Regions from separate parts of the Homo sapiens genome. Here all the other regions are linked to region 3. The links are contacts of gene promoters, found by promoter capture Hi-C in blood cells and fetal thymus (Javierre and others, 2016). All regions are on one chromosome and are shown on one strand. Each heading gives the region's core, a stretch centred on a gene start or on the middle of the fragment in contact. The rest is flanking DNA. Distances are from core to core; before and after follow the strand shown.

Region 1 (3,796 bases), core at 134-2,633, 550 kb before region 3:
AATTATTTACTTAATATTCTTAGTAGTTATAGGTCTAATCAGATTTTCTATTTCTTCATGATTCAGTCTTTGTAAAAATTGTGTCTACTTCATCTATGTTATCCAATTTGTTTGTAGTAGTCTCTTCTATTCATTTCTGAAAAATTGGTTGTAGTGTCCTCATTTTCATTTCCAATTTTAGTAATTTGAGCACTCTGTCTTTTTTTCCATAACCACTCTAACTAAATTTGCCAATTTCGTTGATCCTTTTAAGTAATCAACTTTTTGGTTCATTAATTTTCTCTATTTTATCTCTGGTCTAATCTTTATTATTTTCTTTATTTTGATAGCTTTGGGTTCATAGTAGTGGCACTTTCCCACTTGAGATCTGAATTAAGTGAAATAGAGACCAGTTCTTCATGGACTCCTAAGACAGATTAGAATATTGCAAATAAGATCTGTTATGTTCCCTCCCATTCAAGAGAGGGAACTGAGAAGTGAACTCCTGCCTCCTCTAAACAAGCTTTCTGTTGGGATGAGGAGGGGATGGGGCAAGGGCAAGAAAAATGCCATGGAACTTTTCCTACCATTTCAAAAGTGGCTTTTTCTTCATTGGGCATTTGATTGGTTGTTATAAAACTCTGACTGTTTTCCAGAGTCCCTATAAGGTTAATTCAACCATTTGGGTTTTTTTTTGTTTGTTTGGCTGTTTTTTTATTACTCTAAGTTGGGGGAAAGAGAGAGTTTGGAATTTCCTAGTCCACCACTTTGCTGACATCACTCTCTCTATCTCTATACTTTTACACTGATTTTTAAAAAGATGATAGAAATGTGTTCACATATTTCTTAAGTAACTAAAAATTAGTGACATTATCCAAGATCTTGGTGGATAAATAATATTCTCTCTGAAGAACCAATGCCCCTTAGAAAAATGACTGATTCTAGATGTGAGATAGCCTCTTATATGTATTTCTTGACTCACTTTACTAACAAGGATCTTCAATACAATACAGTTGAAGAGTAGCAGTGATCTTGTATTCACTGAATACAAGAATGGTTACTTGTATTCATTTCTTTATTAAGAATGCCTCTAATGTTTCCAATAAATGTTTGCTACATATGCTGTATCAAGTTGTAAAAGTTTAACCCGAGCCAGTCATTTGCTTATTTGCTCTCAGCTCTATTCCCACCCTTCTGTGTTCCTTGTTTTTCAGAAGGTTAGAAGTCTGCAAACTACATTTATCATTTCCATTGTCAGATGGCTTCTGATTAGATTTTGTCACTGGGTGGTATTGGTTAAAGTTGGATGGAAGGAATAAATTATATATTTTTCCATAATCTTGGTTTCTGGTAATGTTTTCAGTAGTGGCAGTGATAGCAGAAGATGAGTACCGCTTCAGGGTTCCTGGTGTAGCAGTGCAGTTCCAGCAAGCATGTCAGAAGTCTTGCTAGTGTGGTACTGGTGGGATCAGGCTTTGATGGTGGCATCTGCAGTGGTGAGTTATTTTTGTCTCCCAGAGTCTCACAGTTTTGATGAGACTGTGAACTCTTAGAATCTTGAAAGCTGGCAGCACTGATTCCCAAGACAAATTTCCATAGGGACAAAGTTCCATAGCAACTTCCTGGAATTATTAATTGCTTGGTAACCTCAGCTTCCCTGTTTTACTCCTCCATCACTTTTGGAATCAATTCCCTATATTCAGCTTGTTGAGTTTTCAGTATTTAACATGGTCTCAGTTTTTTAAAATTGGATATTGACTAAAACACATTCTATTTTTAGCTTTCTTGAAAACTTTTTAAATCAGTCATGGGTATTCAGTTTTATCAAATATATATTGTAGACTATGTCAGGATGATTATTTTTTTCATCTCCTTTAATCTGTTTGAACAGCAAATTACAATAGATGGTTTCTTAAAGATAAATCATCCTGGCACTCTAAGGATAAAATCCTACTTGGTCGCATTTTTTTTTCTTTTAATGCATTGCTTTAAAATTGACTGAAGTTTAAGATTTTTAACATTTATATTTATAAGTGAGATTGGACTATATCAGGATGTGGCAGACTTTTTCTGTAAAGGTCCCAGTAGTGAATATTGGACTTTGTGGACCATACAATCTCCTTTGCAACTACTCAACTCTGCTGGTGTAGTATGGAAGCAGCCATAATAAACACATAAAAGAATGCGTGTTGGCTGTGTTTCAATAAAACTTTATTTATGGATGCTGAAATTTGAATTTCACATAATTTTAACATGTCCCAAAATATTATTATTCTTTGAATTCTTTTCAACCATTTTAAAAATGTAAACTATTCTTAGTTCGTGGGTCAAATAAAAACAGATGGCAGACTGGATGTGGCCACACGCCATAGTTTGCTAACTCCTGGCCTATGTATCTCTTTGTGGGGGATCATCCTTATCTGGCTTTGGAATCAGTGTTATATTATAGTATTTAATGAATTTGGAAGCTTCCCACTGTTTTCTATGCCTTGGGACAGTTAAGATGACTGGGAATTATCCTTTCATTGTAGGTGATAGGACTAGCCCTTAAGACCATCTAGGCTGGTACACTTTTGGCAATTAGACCACTGAATATCTTTCCATTTTTTTTCAGGTTAAAGAATTTCTTCTAATTATAAACTAACTTTCTCTCTCTCTTTCTTTCTTTCCTTTCCTTTTCTTTTTTTTTTCTTTCTTTTCTTTCTTTTGAGAAAGAGTCTTGCTCTGTTGCCCAGGCTGGAGTGCAGTGGCACCATCTCAGCTCACTGCAACCTCTGCCTCCCGGGTTCAAGCAATTCTCGTGCCTCAGCCTTCCAAGTAGCTGGGACTACAGGTGTGTGCCACCACACCCGGCTTTTTTTTTTTTTTGTTTTTGTACTTTTAGTAGAGACGGGGTTTCACCATGTTGACCAGGCTGGTCTTGAACTCCTGGCCTCAAGTAATCCACCCACCTCAGCCTCCCAATACAGGCGTGAGCCACTGTGCCAGGGCTTAATTATAAATTTTCAACTTATAAGTTATTACATATACAAAGCCTTATACCACAGCAATCCATTGGTCCTTTCTGCCACCAGATGACATTAGCATGGCCAATATAACCATTATTTGTGTTTTGGAAAGATCACTCTGGTTGTGGTGTAGAGAATGGATTGGACTGGGAGCAGGCACGACTGCAAGAGGTCAAGTGCTATTGTCTGGGTAAGAGATGATGGCAACCTGGACTACTGTAGTTAGTGGTGAAAGAGAGGTAGATAGATTGTAGTGACATTCAGGAGTTGTGTTGGGGTTTTCAAGACCACCCCCAGATTCAGTCATTCAGTAGGAGGACTCACAAGACTCAGCATATAGCCATAGTCATGGCCGATTTATTACAGTGAATAAACACAAAGAAAATCAGCAAAGGCAAAAGGGCAAAGTCCAGAGGAAACCAGGTGCAAGCTTCTAGAGTCCTCTCATAGTGGAGTCAAACAGGATGTATGTAATTCCTTCAACAACATGTTGTGTCATGTTTGAAATGTAATCTACCAAAGAAGCTCGATGGAGCCTAGGCATTTAGGGTTTTTCTCTGCAGGCAGTAACGTAGGCACCCTCTACCTAGCATGCACCAAAATTCCAGAATCCAAGAAAGAAAGCAGATATTCAGCAAAAAACAAATTGTTGTGCCAACAATTTAGGTACAGTGTAAGTACCTTATCAGGGAATTCTTATCAGGGAATGGTAGGAACCGTCCCAAAGTCCAAGTTCTCAGACACCAGCCAAGGGCCAACCTTATAAGCATGCCCTTCAAAGGACAGCAGTTTTAGCCCTGCTGTGTTAA
Region 2 (3,612 bases), core at 326-2,825, 750 kb before region 3:
CACTTTAAATGGTCCCTAACTCTTCATGGAAAGTTCTATGTAAAGCTCCAGCTCCAAACACAAAATAAGACAAAGGTCTAGACCTTGACTCAGGTTTTATGGGAAAATAATTGAAAACCAGCTAAAAGTTCTTGTTCTAAAAGGCTATATGACTTCTCTTCCTGGTAAGAAATTATTGGAAGTCCAGATTCATATATGGGATTGCCTCTACATTTATTATTTTGCACTTAAAAGCATCCTACAAATACAATCAGTAATTAATCAGCCGACATAGTCCATTTGAGAAGGGAGAAGATTGTTCTAAGAGAAGCTCATTATGAAAAACTAGGAAAAATGAAGACTCTTTTCGAGCCCTCTGCCTCCTGCTTTACCAAACACAGGTTCTAGATTGCCAGTTCCACACTCGGATGGTCTGATCATCGGAGGCACTCAGAATCCAGGGATATTCCTGAAAGATATTCCAGACAAAGGCTTTAAACATTAAACAAATCTGTTCTATCAGGTTCTTGTAATCATTTTTCTCTAAAGAACTGCATTGCTTAACGGCTCAGCTACATTAGCAAAGGGGCTGCTGCTTTTGCTATCAGGTTAGCTGTCTCCTTTTCTCTACCACTCTAACAGCTTTTCTCAACTTCGGCACTTTCACCTATAAGACTTAAGAATGGAAGCCAGTTAGAGGCACAATACATTCTCAGAGGCAGATAGTGAAACATACATTTACATTTACTTCTATATGTGTGTGTGTGTGTGTGTGTATTTATATACAGTTAATCATGTAAATTAAGATCCTGTGAAAGACTCTTCTACCTTTAACTCTAGGATGGGAATATTATTTTATTGTCTGACTTCTTTCTGTCCAGTTTCAAAAAATTCCCAGGTCTCAGCAAGCAAAGCAGAAAGTAACATGTAAAGACAATTTAGCCTTTTTGGAGTCTATAAGATTGTTGAGAAAAGGAAGTATTTCTTATTTACACTTCCTTCTTACTACACTTGCTAAGCTTTGTGTTAAACACTGAAAATAGATGGTATTTCTATTTTCAATAGAGATAGTATCTCTACCTTCAGTATTTAGCACAAAGCTTAGCAAGTATAAGGCACACACATATTTAGTGAGCTGGTAAAATGAAAGAAAATAAGGTCTTTCGTAACTTTCCAGGTAGATGGCAACTTGTTCTAGGCAAGGGTCTTCAGGAAGTCCTTTATGGCAATGACAAATAATTCCTACTTAATAAGTTATCTTATTGAGTGGTTATCATTCTCAAATGTTTAAGCTGTAATTTTCTCATTCTCTCCTATCCTAGAATTTTTTAATTAAAAAAAGAAATAATATATACTCAACCAGTAAATTGTTTATTTCATCATATTCTTTCTAACTTAATTAAAGAGACTTAATTTACTGGCAATCAAAGAATAGTGTAAGTTAATGCTAATACACAGAACTATAAGGAGATCCTGTCAGGGTGCAACTGGATTCAGAGGTTGGGAGTCTGTAATCTGCACCTCACTATCTAAATCTACTATGTTACCTGGCAGATCAAAGAAAGTAGTAAGCCTGGCTAAGGGAACAGCCTCCACCAGACCCAAAAATCCTAGGATAGAGGGGTATGATTGTTAATACTTCGAAACGTTTGTTAGCTGATCAAAATGGCATCTTAGTCTGACCTTCTTCCAGACACACCTACTACTTACTAATAATACCCTACATGGGATTAGCTGGCAAACTTTTGTTTTTTGGTTCAGCAAATCTGAAATCAAATCCCTACTTTTCCCTACAGAGAAACAATGACTTCCCATAGAATCCACTGAATCCAATAAAATTAAATTCAGTATAATCCCAAGTGCTTCCTTTTGCAGAAAGAAAAAAAGCAGAAAGGACAATACCACACAGATTGTAGAAGAGCCACTCCAAAAACAACTCTATTATTAAAACATGGGTTCTCAAGGATCAAATAAAGATTACTATGGGGAAACTAAGAATGCTCCAAAACTAGCGCCACCATGACTACTTACATGATGAAAAAACGTGGTGCGAATATAATCTAAGTGCCCAAGCAATGTGAAAAGACAGCGCCGAAGCTTGTAATTCCAAACCTGCAAAGACAAATCAAACTAAGAAACAGAAATAGTTATTGAGCCTCTAAAAGGCTCAGAGAAATTGATATCTTTACAGAGATAGAAATATGTATATAAATATAGATTTATATACATTATTTGTATTTTGGCATTTCTAAATAGGTAGGAACCTTGGTAGAAAGCCTTGTTTAAGATTTGAGGGGAAAAGAACAAGAATGAAAATATAGGTCAGATAAACAACATGGGGTTGGGGTAGGATTAGGGAAAAGCTAAAGATAAAATTATTGAAGTTTTTCAGGCTGGGCGTGGTCACTCATGCCTGTAATCCCAGCACTTTGGGAGGTCGAGGCGGGTGGATCACAAGGTCAGGAGATCGAGACCATCCTGGCTAACATAGTGAAACCCTGTCTCTACTAAAAATACAAAAAATTAGCCAGGCGTGGTGGCATGTGCCTGTAGTCCCAGCTACTCGGGAGGCTGAGGCAGGAGAATCGCTTGAACTCAGGATACAAGAGGTTGCAGTGAGCCGAAATCATGCCATTGTACTCCAGCCTGGGTAACAGAGCGAGACTCAGTCTCAAAAAAAAAAAAAAAAAAAAAAAGTTTTTCTTTCTTTGGGAAGAAGCCATCTGCATTTAATAGCAGGAGATATTTATCCAGGGCTTGATTTGCAACTCTTTTTTCTACTGCAAAATTGTGCTCTTGGCTTGAATATAGACCCCTTAAGTGCTTTACCCATCACTTTTAAAAAGTATGACAGGCTGGGCACGATGGCTCATACCTGTAATCCCAGCACTTTGGGAGGTCAAGGCAGGGGGATCACCTGAGGTCAGGAGTTTGGGACCGGCCTGGCCAACATGGGGAAACCCTGTCTCTACAAAAATACAAAAAAAAATTAGCCGGATGTGATCCCAGCTACTTGGGAGGCTGCGGCAGCAGGATCACTTGAACCTGGGAGGCGGCGTTTGCAGTGAGTTGAGATCGCTCCACTGCACTCCAGCCTGGGCGACAGAGAGAGGCTCGGTCTCAAAAAAAAAAAAAAAAGTAGGACAGATAGATACCATGACTCCAAGGGAAACAATAATATAGGGCATCAGCTTCTTAGGCTCCTAACTTGATGGCAAACAACGCCCATACATGTGTGGTCTGTACTCACCTGTCAAGCAAACAGACCTTAACTTATTACATGGAAAATACTACATTGCTCAGTAAGCCTGAGCTAAGCAGAGAAACAATATCATATTCAGATGTGAAGTTGAGTCAACTACCAAAGTACTAGGCATCAATGAACACAACTGAAGACATGAAAACCAGGATCATAAATATAAAATAGCTTATCTTCCTCATTCAGAAAATCCCCTAAAATGTACAAAAATAAGAGACCAGATGCATTTTTCTTCTTATTTAATTTTTTTAAATTTCTTTTTAATATTTGTTTATAATCAATCTGGGCCAGCTTGTTACTATTTCTAATTTTTAACTTTTCTTCAGTAAATTATAAAAATTTCATTTCCTATAACAAGTCCAGACAATCCAAAA
Region 3 (3,809 bases), core at 1,268-3,767:
CACTGAAGGCTGCAGCTGCAGCCTGGGTGCAGTAGTGCTAGGGTGGAGAGGAGGGGACAGTTCTGGGGGGAGATTTGACAGGGATTTGGTCACTGACCAGAAAGAGAGATGAAGGAGAGGAAAGACTCAAAGGCAGCTCCTAAATTTCTAGGATGAGTAACTTATGAGGGAGACAGGGCCTGAGGATGTTCATTTTTGGGAAGAAATAAATTTGGAGTCATGGAATCAAAAGTGAAATATGGGGATTGGGGCCTGGGGGCAGAGCAAAGGAACATGCTGGGATGGCAGGAGCTCCTTGCCTTGGAACGCGTGCCCCAGCAACCCCCAACAGTGTGTTGTCCCTGCCTCTGCCCAGCAAGCCACACACCTTGTTGTTCCTCACCTCTGCTCACACCGTACCCGCTGCCTGGAATGCCCTCCTCCCTATATCTGGTAGCACCTACTCATCATTTAAGACTCCGCTTAGACATCATTTCCAGCAGGAGTCCTCCCTCCTCCCACCCCCACCCCAGGCAGCATTAGGTGCCCTTCCTCTGTGCTCCCCAGCACCCTGCTTTCATTCCCATCACAGCACTTTATCCCTATTTTCTGGGCCTCACATCACCATTGGAACCATTGTTTCTGATTTAGTGCTCAGTGGTATGTGGGTTCCGTCAACATTTATTGACCAAGTGAATGAATGAACAGGTGAATTAATAAATGAGAGAGACAGAAGGAAAGTGTAGAATGAGGAGGAACAGGCTGGGCACAGTGGCTCACACCCTAATCCCAGCACTTTGGGAAGCTGAGGCAGGCAGATCACCTGAGGTCAGGAGTTTGAGACCAGCCTGGCCAAAATGGTGAAACCCTGTCTCTACTAAAAATAAAAAAATTAGATGGGCGTGGTGGCGGGCGCCTGTAGTCCCAGCTACTCGGGAGGCTGAGGTAGGAGAACTGGTGAACCCAGGAGGTGGAGGTTGCAGTGAGCTAAGATCATGCCACTGACCTCCAGCTTGGGCAACAAAGCAAGACACCATCCCCCCGCCACCAAAAAAAATGAGGAGGAACAAGCATTGGGCTGGCCAGGGAGGAACATTACATGGTAACCTTGGGGTGGAGGCAGGATAGGCTGGGCTAGCTAATTGGGTTCACTGCCAAAGGGAGCACCTCCAGACTGGACAGAGGAAAAAAATAGGGATGGAAGGAGGCAGGCATGGAGGGAGGAAATGAAGCCCCACCAGAATGGATCAGAGAGTTTTAGTGAGGCAGCACATAGAGCACAGGAAGGGGTTCCTGTGGCCCTGCTACCAGAAGGAGAGGGAAGAAGGATGCTGAGAGGGCCCAGATGGGACAGGATAGACCTGCAGGGCCAGATACCAGAGCCCTGACCTGCCTAAGCTAATGTTGGTCCCACCCAGCCCAGCCTGGGAGTCCAGCTAACCACCCGCACCCCTCCCAGGCTTTTTCTCCTCCTGGCACTGGAAAGAACAGGGCTGCCAAGGAAGGGCTGTGAGTGAGCTTGGGTAGGGGATCTCCAGCACAACATATCCTCTGCTTCAAACGCTGGTGTCTGTGAAGGTCACAGGGATCCCAAGACCTGCCCCATTAGGACACTCAAACCTTTCTAAAGACTATTTCTGAGACAATATCAGATGGCATATTTTCCATCCCTATTCCTATACTAGCCAACCACCTGCTGCCTCCCCACCACTAATCACCTATATTTCCCTTGGAAAATACCTTCTTAGGGTACAGCAGGCATTAGATACCCAGCGCATGCCTGAATGTCAATCCTCCATGTTCTCACCTGTGAGTCCACGATCCCCACCCCTAGGGGACACACTGAAGCTTCACAGACCGAGGAACCCAGTAAAACAGGAAATTCCCTTCTGGATATCTCCCACAGATCCTCATTGTTCTAAATCCACTACTTAGTAGGAACATCTCAGCCTGAGGCAACACCCTCCTCCAGCTGCATACCCCCCTACCACCCTAGGGTACAAGAGAAGAGAAAATAGAATTTGGGCCCTAGAATCCCTGTCCTTGTCTAAACAGACCCAGAAGTCCAGGTTTCCAGGCCAGGGCAGGCCAGGACTGCCTCCTCCTTCTCTCCTCCACCCAGTGTCAGCCTGGCGTCAGCATGATGATGTCATCAGACCAAAGGAGACACATTGCCTGCCTGGTGAGGTCACCTTGAGGGCATGTGGTGGCCAGGCCAGGCCAAGCCCAGGGACCCTTCTGTTGCAAATTGTTTACTGAGGCTGGTGGACTCCGGCTGGTTAGACACTCCTCCCTCTGACCCTCCCACCCCTCCTCCCTGGAGTACCAGGACGCTGGTCAGGAGCCTTGGTGACTCAGAAGCTGCCTCACAGCAGCAAGCCTAGCCACAGCCACCACCACCTTGCGCAAGGGAGAGAACAGGCCCAACTGGCCAGACGGGATCCCTGCCCTTGGCCTCCCCCACCCTGGCCAGGCCCCCACGGGCCTCTTTGGAGCCCAGCCCTTTGTGTACCCCGCCCGCTCCCAGACAGGCCCTCCATTCCAGGTTTGGGCTGGCTGGCTCTTCCCCACCCTATGCCTGGGTCTCAACTTTCCTTCCTATGTGAGCCTGGCCTCTGATCTCAGGAGGGGAAACTGAGGCTGGCACTTGCTGACACCCAGCCATCAAGAGCATCTTTAAGGAAGTATCTTTTCTTTATGAGGGGCCTTTCTCCATCAGTATCCCCTGCTGGGACTTACAGATGTGAATGTAGGGGATCGTAGAGGTGGGTCTGTGAGAAGGAGGAAGGGAGTAAGTATGAGTTTTTTGTGTATGGGGAGCTGTGGCTGAGGGCCTGGCCAATCTTAGTGCTGGTTCAAACGCATGTGAGGCTATCTTCTTGCATAAACTGGTGGGTGTTTGGCACATATATGTGTTCATGTCTTATCTTAGGGGCATATACGTACTTACTTGTCTGTGTCCAGAGGGAAGAGCTGTGTATCAGTATGTGTGAATGTGTGTGCACACATGATTCCGTGTGCATGTCACACCCTCTGTATGCATGGAGTGCATTCTTGTCTCGCGGAACTCTGCACACATAGTAAATATTTTGCTGTCGGTTTATCTTGGCTTCCACATGTCTCTCTGTCTCAGCTGCCCTTGGTCTGTGGTATGTGGCTGTGAGCCTTTGCCTCTGCATCCTGCCTGGAATGTCACCCCCAGCATCCTTCCCCACCTTACCCCAAGACTTGAAGACATATTAATCTCAGGCTCAAGGTGGAAGTACCCAGAGATGAGGTCACTGTCCCTCCAGGTGATGGGAACTTGCCATTAAGGACTCCCCAGCAGAACAAAACAAATGTTCCCTCTCCCCTTGCTCCTCAGGTTCCTACTAAAAGGACTGCCAACCTTCTCACCACTACCCCCAGCCACTCCCCTGGGCCCCTCAGCAGCTCTGGCCCCCCAAGGAGGCCTCTCCCTGGGAATCTCTGTCAGGGCTCTGCTGCTGCCACCACCAGAAAAACCAGCTCTGGCTCCAGGCCTGGGTAAGGGTTGTCTGGTGTGGGTTTGGGGGGGTGAGGGGAATCCTGCCTGGGGCTAGGGGGAGGGGTCCAGGCTGTCTAGGGTCTCATGCTCCTTTGTTAACTCCTGCCTCCCCTTACCTGACAGCAACAATCTCCACCGAGAGCTGGAGTATGTGGGTGAGTCTGGGGTGAGAAAGGACCTAGGAGGGACGCACCGAAGCTCACCATCCAGGACAGGTGACACAAACAACCCAGCAAACCCCTTTCCATCCACTCTTTGCCCCATAACCTTGGCCTTGGAGTGCTAAGGAACTTTAAAAACCAGA
Region 4 (3,467 bases), core at 869-3,368, 930 kb before region 3:
TTAATGGTTAAAAAAATGGAAAATATCTCATAAATCCATCAGTAATGGGAATGATTGAATAGAGCATGGTCAATACAGAATATGGAAGCCTCACAGCACTGAAAAAAAGAAGCTTTATGTACATGACAGGTTGGTAGAGAGTTGAATGATTGTTTAAAAGTTGAAAAATACCTCCTTTTAGATATCTATTTGTATAAACATAGAAAAAAGACTGGAAGGACATGCAGCACATTGTTACCAGCAGTAACTTCAGCAGTGGGGAGAATCTGAGTTTGGAGGGAGGGAAGGTGGGGCTTTCAATTTTTATCTTAAACATTTTTAATAGAGAAGAAAAATCCAATCTGTTAAAGAAATAGACGATCATTTATCCCAGCTGGGAAGGGAGCATTTCTATTTCTGAATATTCAAGGAGGATTGCATCAGCACCAAGATGAATGTTTCCAGATACAGTCATATTTTTAAAAAGCATGCCCAACCAAAATGCAATTAAATAAATATCAGGCCAGGCTTGGTGTCTCACTTATGTAATCCCAACATTTTAGGAGGCCAAGGCCAAGGATTGCTTGAGCCCAGGAGTTTGAGACCAGCCTGGGCAACACAGGGGCACCCCGTCTTTACTAAAATAAAATAAAAAAAATTAGCCGGGCATGGTGGCACATGCCTGTGGTCCCAGCTACTTGGGAGGCTGAGGTGGGAGGATCACTTGGACCTGGGAGGTTGAGGCTGGAGTAAGCCATAATCGCACCATTACACTCCAGCCTGGGCAACAAAGTGAGATCCTGTCTCAAAAAGTAAATAAACAAATATCAAACAACAGAATGGGAAAATCTATGTGACGTGCATAATTGAAAAATATATATAATGGTTGACAGAAAAGTATAGATGCTTCAGATTATTCTTGGAAGGAGGTAGAATCCTATGGACATGCAAAACATATATACAGTTAATATAGTCAAAGCACTTACTGAGACACCAGAGAAGGTCAATGGAAGAGGTAAGTACATCATTTTAAAATGAGAAAATGCAACGCTATCACATGGAAAAGCATATTTTTACCCTCACTGAGAAGAGCTGCATATTAATCCACAAATAAAACTACTACTGAATTCAAGCTACCTATTGAGCACATACTATATATGTCACATAGTGCTTTTTGTAGAGCACCTCACTTAAGGTAGAAGGTATCCTCTTTTAAAAATAAGAAAAGAGAGGTACAGAGGTTAGGTAACTTGCTCAAAGCCACACAGCTGACAAGTGGAGGAGTTGGGATTGAAATCCAGGACTGGTTCCAGAGCCCAAGATCTGATCTATTCTGCTAGCTGATCTCCTAAAATTAAAAGATCAAACCCAATGTTAGTGGAAAAGTGTGCCTTGCTAAAAAACACACACAGAGTACCTGCTTTTTTTTTTTTTTTGAGATGGAGTCTCAAAAACAGACGGGAGAATATTAGTCCAAACTGCAACTGCACCATTTTGTAAGCTCCCTGCTATGGTTTTTTGTTTGTTTGTTTGTTTGTTTGTTTGTTTGTTTGTTTGTCTGAGATGGAGTCACTCTGTCACCGAGGCTGGAGTGCAGTGATGCAATCTCAATTCACTGCAACCTCTGCCTTCTGGATTCAGATGTTTCTCCTGCCTCAGCCTCCCGAGCAGCTGGGATTACAGGTGCCCACCACCACACCTGGCTAAATTTTGTATTTTTAGTAGAGATGGGGTTTCACCATACTGGCCACGAAGGTCTCGATCTCAGCCTCCCAAAGTGCTGGGATTACAGGCATGAGCCACCGCGCCCGGCCGAATACCCGCTTTATTTTTGAGTCATCTATTTGGCATACCTCTAAGCCTCCAAAGTCTGCAGGACCACACAAGAACTTTGTTCTAGTTCTGCCCTCAGACTGAAACTCTTTCTGTAGCAGGGCCTGCTCCAATCGTCCTCAAACCCAAAGACTGAGACTTCTAGGTTCTTGGTTAAAACCTTCATGAGGCCTTTGCGACAGCAGACCTGGACCATCGCCAAGGCAAGACTTCTGGATTCTTGGTTAGAACTTTCAGGAGGCCTTTGTGATGCCAGACCTGGGTCATTGCCCCAGCAACCACAGGGCCTGGGACTGGGGGGTTCCCAGATCCTTGAAGCTCACTCCGCCTCCTCACTCTCACTGCATTTCCCACCTTCCTGTGGGCCTTGCGGCATCTTCATCACTGAGGCACCTGGTTACGCTTCACCTCTTGTTTCCTGCCCTCACTGCATTCCCTCACCTCTACCTTTTTATCCTTCCACCCTAGGCTTCTCTCCTCCCTCTTCCCTCACTCCTGACTCTTCCTCTTCCCAGCGGACGGCTGGAGGACCGCTCAGTCTCTCCTCTCTCACTTCCCTTCCTCTCTCTCACCTTCACCACCCAACACCTCCCTCCCTGCCTCTTTCTTTCTGCTCCCTCATTCTCTCCCCACCACTCTCTTCTCGTGGCCCCCTTGCCCGCGCGCCCTCTTCCCTTCCCCTTGCCTCACTCTCTCAGCTTTCTTCCCACAGTTGAGCTCGGGCAGCTCTTTCTGGGGATAGCTATGGGGCTTTGGGGGAAGAAAGGGACAGTGGCTCCCCATGACCAGAGTCCAAGACGAAGACCTAAAAAAGGGCTTATCAAGAAAAAAATGGTGAAGAGGGAAAAACAGAAGCGCAATATGGAGGAACTGAAGAAGGAAGTGGTCATGGTGAGGCCACCCAAAGTGGGCGCTGACAGCTGCCCTCTGAAAACACTCCTCCACCTATCTTTAACATCTTACCTTGAGAATGAAACACACAGGCCAGAGCCACATCTCTTCTCTGTTAGGCTTTGGAGGGAAGGAGAGGGTTAAAAAAAAAAAAAAAGATACACACAGAGAGACAGGGCAGCTCAACAGCAAGCACAGGTATATTGCAGACACCTGTGGAAGTGGGGGATCAGCTTAATTCCACAGTCCACTGCCACTTACAGGCTGGGTACTTATAGGGATGGATGGGAGGAGTCTGGGCTGTATGGCCTGCTGCCTGGCAGGATATCGATAAGATGTTCTCATGATGAGGTGATTTTTGGCCCTTGTTTCCACAGAATATAATCATGGTATTCCCTGGACCTTTGCCCAGCAGGATGTGATAGGGATGTTTCTTTAGTGGGGTCTTTGTCTTTAATTGGGCCTTCGTCTGCCCTGTGGTCAGGTGGTTAGGCAGGCTGTTTCTCTGGCCCGAACCCCCGTGAAATGTTTCACTTTGACCAAGGCCTGTAAAATAGTGGGGAGCTAGGCCGGGCGTGGTGGCTCACACCTGTAATCCCAGCACTTTGGGAGGCTGAGGCAGGCAGATCACCTGAGGTCAGGAGTTTGAGACAAGCCTGGCCAACATGGTGAAACCCCGCCTCTAAAAATACAAAAATTAGCTGGTCCTGGTGATGGGCCCCTGTAATCCCAGCTGCTTGGGAGGCTGAGGCAGGAGAAACACC
Region 5 (3,611 bases), core at 1,112-3,611, 730 kb before region 3:
CTCACACTTATTAGTGAAAACTTCCCTTGGCTGCCCTGGTCTGGTCAGGGGAGAGGGCAGGGTGGTCCTCAGAAGGAAAGGTGTACCATCAAAAGAAATGATCTTGAGCTTAGGGCTAAATTTCACCTACCTGTCCCTGAGTAACCCTGGGCATCCCTCCCCTCCCTCCCTGGGGTCCTTACTCACTAAAGCTCTACTTTTTAGAGCAGATCATTGTCCAGACTCAGAATTTAGAGACTGAAAGGGAAGAAATAAGTCAACAGTTTGATTCCCCTAGTTCCCCATTTGTTTCCATCCTGCAGGCAGAATGTCAGGCTGTCTGATACCTTCCTGTGTTCCTTCATGGAATTCCTTTCCTATTCCAGGGATTTAATGGAGAAGCTGAAAGGGAGAACCAGCCGAATTGCTGGTCTTGCAGTGTCCTTGACCAAGCCCAGTCCTGCCTCAGGCTTCTCTCCTAGTGTACAGTGCCCAAATGATGGGTTTGGTAAGTGTCCCAAAGGATCAGGAGAGCCTACTGTCACCTAAGGCTCACTGTTGCTTCGGTCTTACGTCTTTGTGAGGGATGTATATGTGTTTGTGTCTGTGTGTAGTGTCAGTAACTGACTCCCAAACAGGGGGTAGTGTTTATTTGTCTTTGCTGCTCATCCCTTCCCTCTCCTGCTTCCCCTTCCTTTGCCTTACCTGGCATTATCTCTTTTTGTCACGTGTTCACATCCCTAATCTTACAGCCTAAGACTCCCTGATACCATTGTCTTTCTATTTTAGTGTGGATGGTAATAGACTTCATGCCTACTTCTTTGAGTCACCACCTCCTTTTGAACTCTTAGTCCCAACTGAAAGATTCTTCTGCCGTCACCTGGTTCCTAAGTACTTGGTGTCCCAGTAACCAGTCCCCCTATTCCCCATCCTTCCCTTCAGGTGTTTACTCCAATTCCTATGGGCCAGAGTTTGCTCACTGCAGAGAAATACAGTGGAATTCGCTGGGCAATGGTTTGGCTTATGAAGACTTTAGTTTCCCCATCTTTCTTCTTGAAGATGAAAATGAAACCAAAGTCATCAAGCAGGTAATGACACTGCCAGCTCCTAGCAATTCCAGTTAGAAAGAAGATTATTTTTCTAGCCAGGTGTGGTGGTGTGTGCACGTAGTCCCAGCCACCCGGGAGGCTGAGACAGGAGGATCACTTGAGGCCGGGAGGCAGAGGTTTCAGTGAGCTGAGATGGCACCATTGCACTCCAGCCTGGGTGACAGAGCAAGGCCCTGTGTCACAAAAAAAAAAAAAAAAAAAGGATTATTTTATAGGCTCTCCTATTTGGAGGGTGGCTCATTCTTCTGGTACACCTGCTGAAAGACGGTTGCTCCAAAAAGAACCAAGACGTTAGTTCTTCTCACATTCTTTCCCCACATTTTGCTCCTACCTGATATTACAGCATTAAAGCCTTTTAGACTAGAAGAAAATATAAAGAATATCTGAAAGAGTAATATGAAACAAGGTACACAGCCCAGGTTAAGAACCACTAGTATCGTTAAAAAAAAAAGCATTGGATTAGAGATTGAGAAATTCAATTTGGTAATTTCTGAGCTTCTTTTTAGCTCTAATATGCCTTAATTCTGGTCTAGTATTTCCATTTTGACTCATAGAGTAGTTAAGAGATTTGTCCAAAGTTGTATGGTGAGTTGATCTCCAAGCTGTGTCATATCTGATTTCCTATCTCTAGTTTGGTGCTCTTTGTATCAGACCACACTGAATCTTTTCAGTGGCTGAAGCTTCAAATTGGGCCAGGCCATCTGGAATGGGATAGTTTCATCTCCAGCTAAACCACTGAGTCTGCAACCCTTTGTAACTCTTGATGAGTTTTTTTCTTTGACCTTATAGATCCTATGGTGGTTCTAGGATAACTATAGCTCAGGGATAAATGTCTCCGAAAAGGGTGTGGCTCCATCCCAAAAGGATGGAACTGGGCCCTCCTCCTTCTGGGATGTAAGGGAGGGCCTCCACAAACTAGCTGTCTCAGTGGGGTCCATCTCCCCTTTCAGTGCTATCAAGATCACAACCTGAGTCAGAATGGCTCAGCACCAACCTTCCCACTATGTGCCATGCAGCTCTTTTCACACATGCATGCTGTCATCAGCACTGCCACCTGCATGCGGCGCAGCTCCATCCAAAGCACCTTCAGCATCAACCCAGGTAGGGCAGATCCGAACCATGAGGGTAATGGAATAAGGGGCAGAGGGAGAGTGGAACCAGGCCAGGGAATGTTAGAGAGACTGTAATAGGGAAGGAGTAGACACCATGAAGGAGCTCTGCATGGGAGAACTAGAAACAATTCTGAAAAATTTAGGCAGCTTGTTCCTAAAGTGGATAGTGGCAGAGAAGCCAACCTCGGACTGTTGGAAGTAGAGAAAACGACTTAGAGTCCGTGGGGCACTGGTCAGAGATTTCCAATGTTGCCTTTATAGCTACCTTCTCCTTTAGCCTTGTTGATCTCTCATTGTTTGTGTCCTGCTTAGAAATCGTCTGTGACCCCCTGTCTGATTACAATGTGTGGAGCATGCTAAAGCCTATAAATACAACTGGGACATTAAAGCCTGACGACAGGGTTGTGGTTGCTGCCACCCGGGTGAGTGTTGGCTTCTGATCAGGATGGGCAGGGCTGGCACAAAAAGAGCTGGTAGGCCCCGCTCTAGCATATCAGATTTCAAAGTTGCTAAATTGGGAAGCCTCAAATGGGGAGGAATCTGGGCTGTGGGACTCCTGGGTTGTCTCCATTGCCACAGGACAGGTATATTCTCTTGACTGGAGCAAGAAAGGAGGTTTGGGGCCAGTTTTAAAGTATATATCCCCTGACTTTTCTTCTGTTGTACCTAGCTGGATAGTCGTTCCTTTTTCTGGAATGTGGCCCCAGGGGCTGAAAGCGCAGTGGCTTCCTTTGTCACCCAGCTGGCTGCTGCTGAAGCTTTGCAAAAGGCACCTGATGTGACCACCCTGCCCCGCAATGTCATGTTTGTCTTCTTTCAAGGGGTAAGGGCTCTTTGGCTGGGGTGCAATGGCAGGGAAGAAAGAGGATAGTAAAGATGAGAGTGGCTACTGGTTGGAGAAGACCTCAGCACTTGACCTAAGTTGTTAACCAGCACAGAGCTTCTGGATGTGTCTACATGTGTCTCCCCTTTAGATTCCTCCATTTTAGGAAGCTTAGATTCCTTCTTTTTAGGAAGCTTTTACACCCTGAATTGGTATGTAACCAGCCCCCTCTTTCCCCCACTGATAAGATATATTGGAGGCGGCCTTTTACTTTTATTCTCTGGACTCCTTTACTGCTATCTCCATCCAGGAGCCGTTAGGCTCCTGACTCTCATCACTAGGACCACAGCAGAATAAGGGAACAGCATCTGTGGCTGAGTCACTGGAGGTGGGGGACCGTTAAGAATCAGACACATAATAGCTGATGTTCATCTTAGACCTTTACTAAGGCTACTTTCCCCATTTCTGGGCTTCAGAAGTCTTGTAATACATATGAGGGATAGTCACAGCTGGGAGGTGGGGCCAAGAGAAGCCGAAAGTCACATGACTGTAAGCTGACTAGCAGTTGAGGTGACCTGAGATAGTCGT

What was found. The method cuts DNA at HindIII sites, captures the fragments that hold promoters and counts their contacts. A CHiCAGO score of 5 or more calls a contact.
Region 1: a contact is called between the fragment with the promoter of CD84-AS1 here and the fragment with the promoter of NECTIN4-AS1 in region 3, in 12 of 17 cell types (total CD4 T cells, naive CD8 T cells, total CD8 T cells and 9 more). The highest score is 12.1, in total CD4 T cells.
Region 2: a fragment that was not itself captured here is called in contact with the fragment with the promoter of NECTIN4-AS1 in region 3 in 1 of 17 cell types (non-activated CD4 T cells); the score reaches 5.4 in non-activated CD4 T cells.
Region 4: a contact is called between the fragment with the promoter of ATP1A4 here and the fragment with the promoter of NECTIN4-AS1 in region 3, in 7 of 17 cell types (non-activated CD4 T cells, naive B cells, erythroblasts and 4 more). The highest score is 7.9, in non-activated CD4 T cells.
Region 5: a fragment that was not itself captured here is called in contact with the fragment with the promoter of NECTIN4-AS1 in region 3 in 1 of 17 cell types (activated CD4 T cells); the score reaches 5.8 in activated CD4 T cells.

What each region holds. Positions count from the first base shown.
Region 1 is chr1:160,535,713-160,539,508 of GRCh38, forward strand. CD84-AS1 (CD84 antisense RNA 1) reads left to right here and starts at 1,384. Exons shown (of 2, transcript NR_188634.1): 1 at 1,384-1,475. The HindIII fragment of the contact is 1,945 bases long and covers 501-2,445 here.
Region 2 is chr1:160,333,232-160,336,843 of GRCh38, forward strand. COPA (coat protein complex I subunit alpha) reads right to left here. Exons shown (of 33, transcript NM_004371.4): 4 at 2,011-2,091; 5 at 372-448. Among named protein-coding and RNA genes, the nearest start is that of COPA, 8.2 kb to the right of the region's middle. The HindIII fragment of the contact is 997 bases long and covers 1,078-2,074 here.
Region 3 is chr1:161,081,309-161,085,117 of GRCh38, forward strand. NECTIN4-AS1 (NECTIN4 antisense RNA 1) reads left to right here and starts at 2,518. Exons shown (of 4, transcript NR_183641.1): 1 at 2,518-2,770; 2 at 3,344-3,504; 3 at 3,629-3,720. The region is part of intron 1 of NECTIN4 (nectin cell adhesion molecule 4); the gene reads right to left. The HindIII fragment of the contact is 5,052 bases long and covers 1,826-3,809 here.
Region 4 is chr1:160,149,485-160,152,951 of GRCh38, forward strand. ATP1A4 (ATPase Na+/K+ transporting subunit alpha 4) reads left to right here and starts at 2,119. Exons shown (of 22, transcript NM_144699.4): 1 at 2,119-2,703. The coding sequence starts at 2,557. The HindIII fragment of the contact is 4,407 bases long and covers 111-3,467 here.
Region 5 is chr1:160,349,184-160,352,794 of GRCh38, forward strand. NCSTN (nicastrin) reads left to right here. Exons shown (of 17, transcript NM_015331.3): 4 at 366-487; 5 at 922-1,067; 6 at 2,039-2,189; 7 at 2,513-2,622; 8 at 2,871-3,023. Among named protein-coding and RNA genes, the nearest start is that of NCSTN, 7.6 kb to the left of the region's middle. The HindIII fragment of the contact is 1,190 bases long and covers 1,767-2,956 here.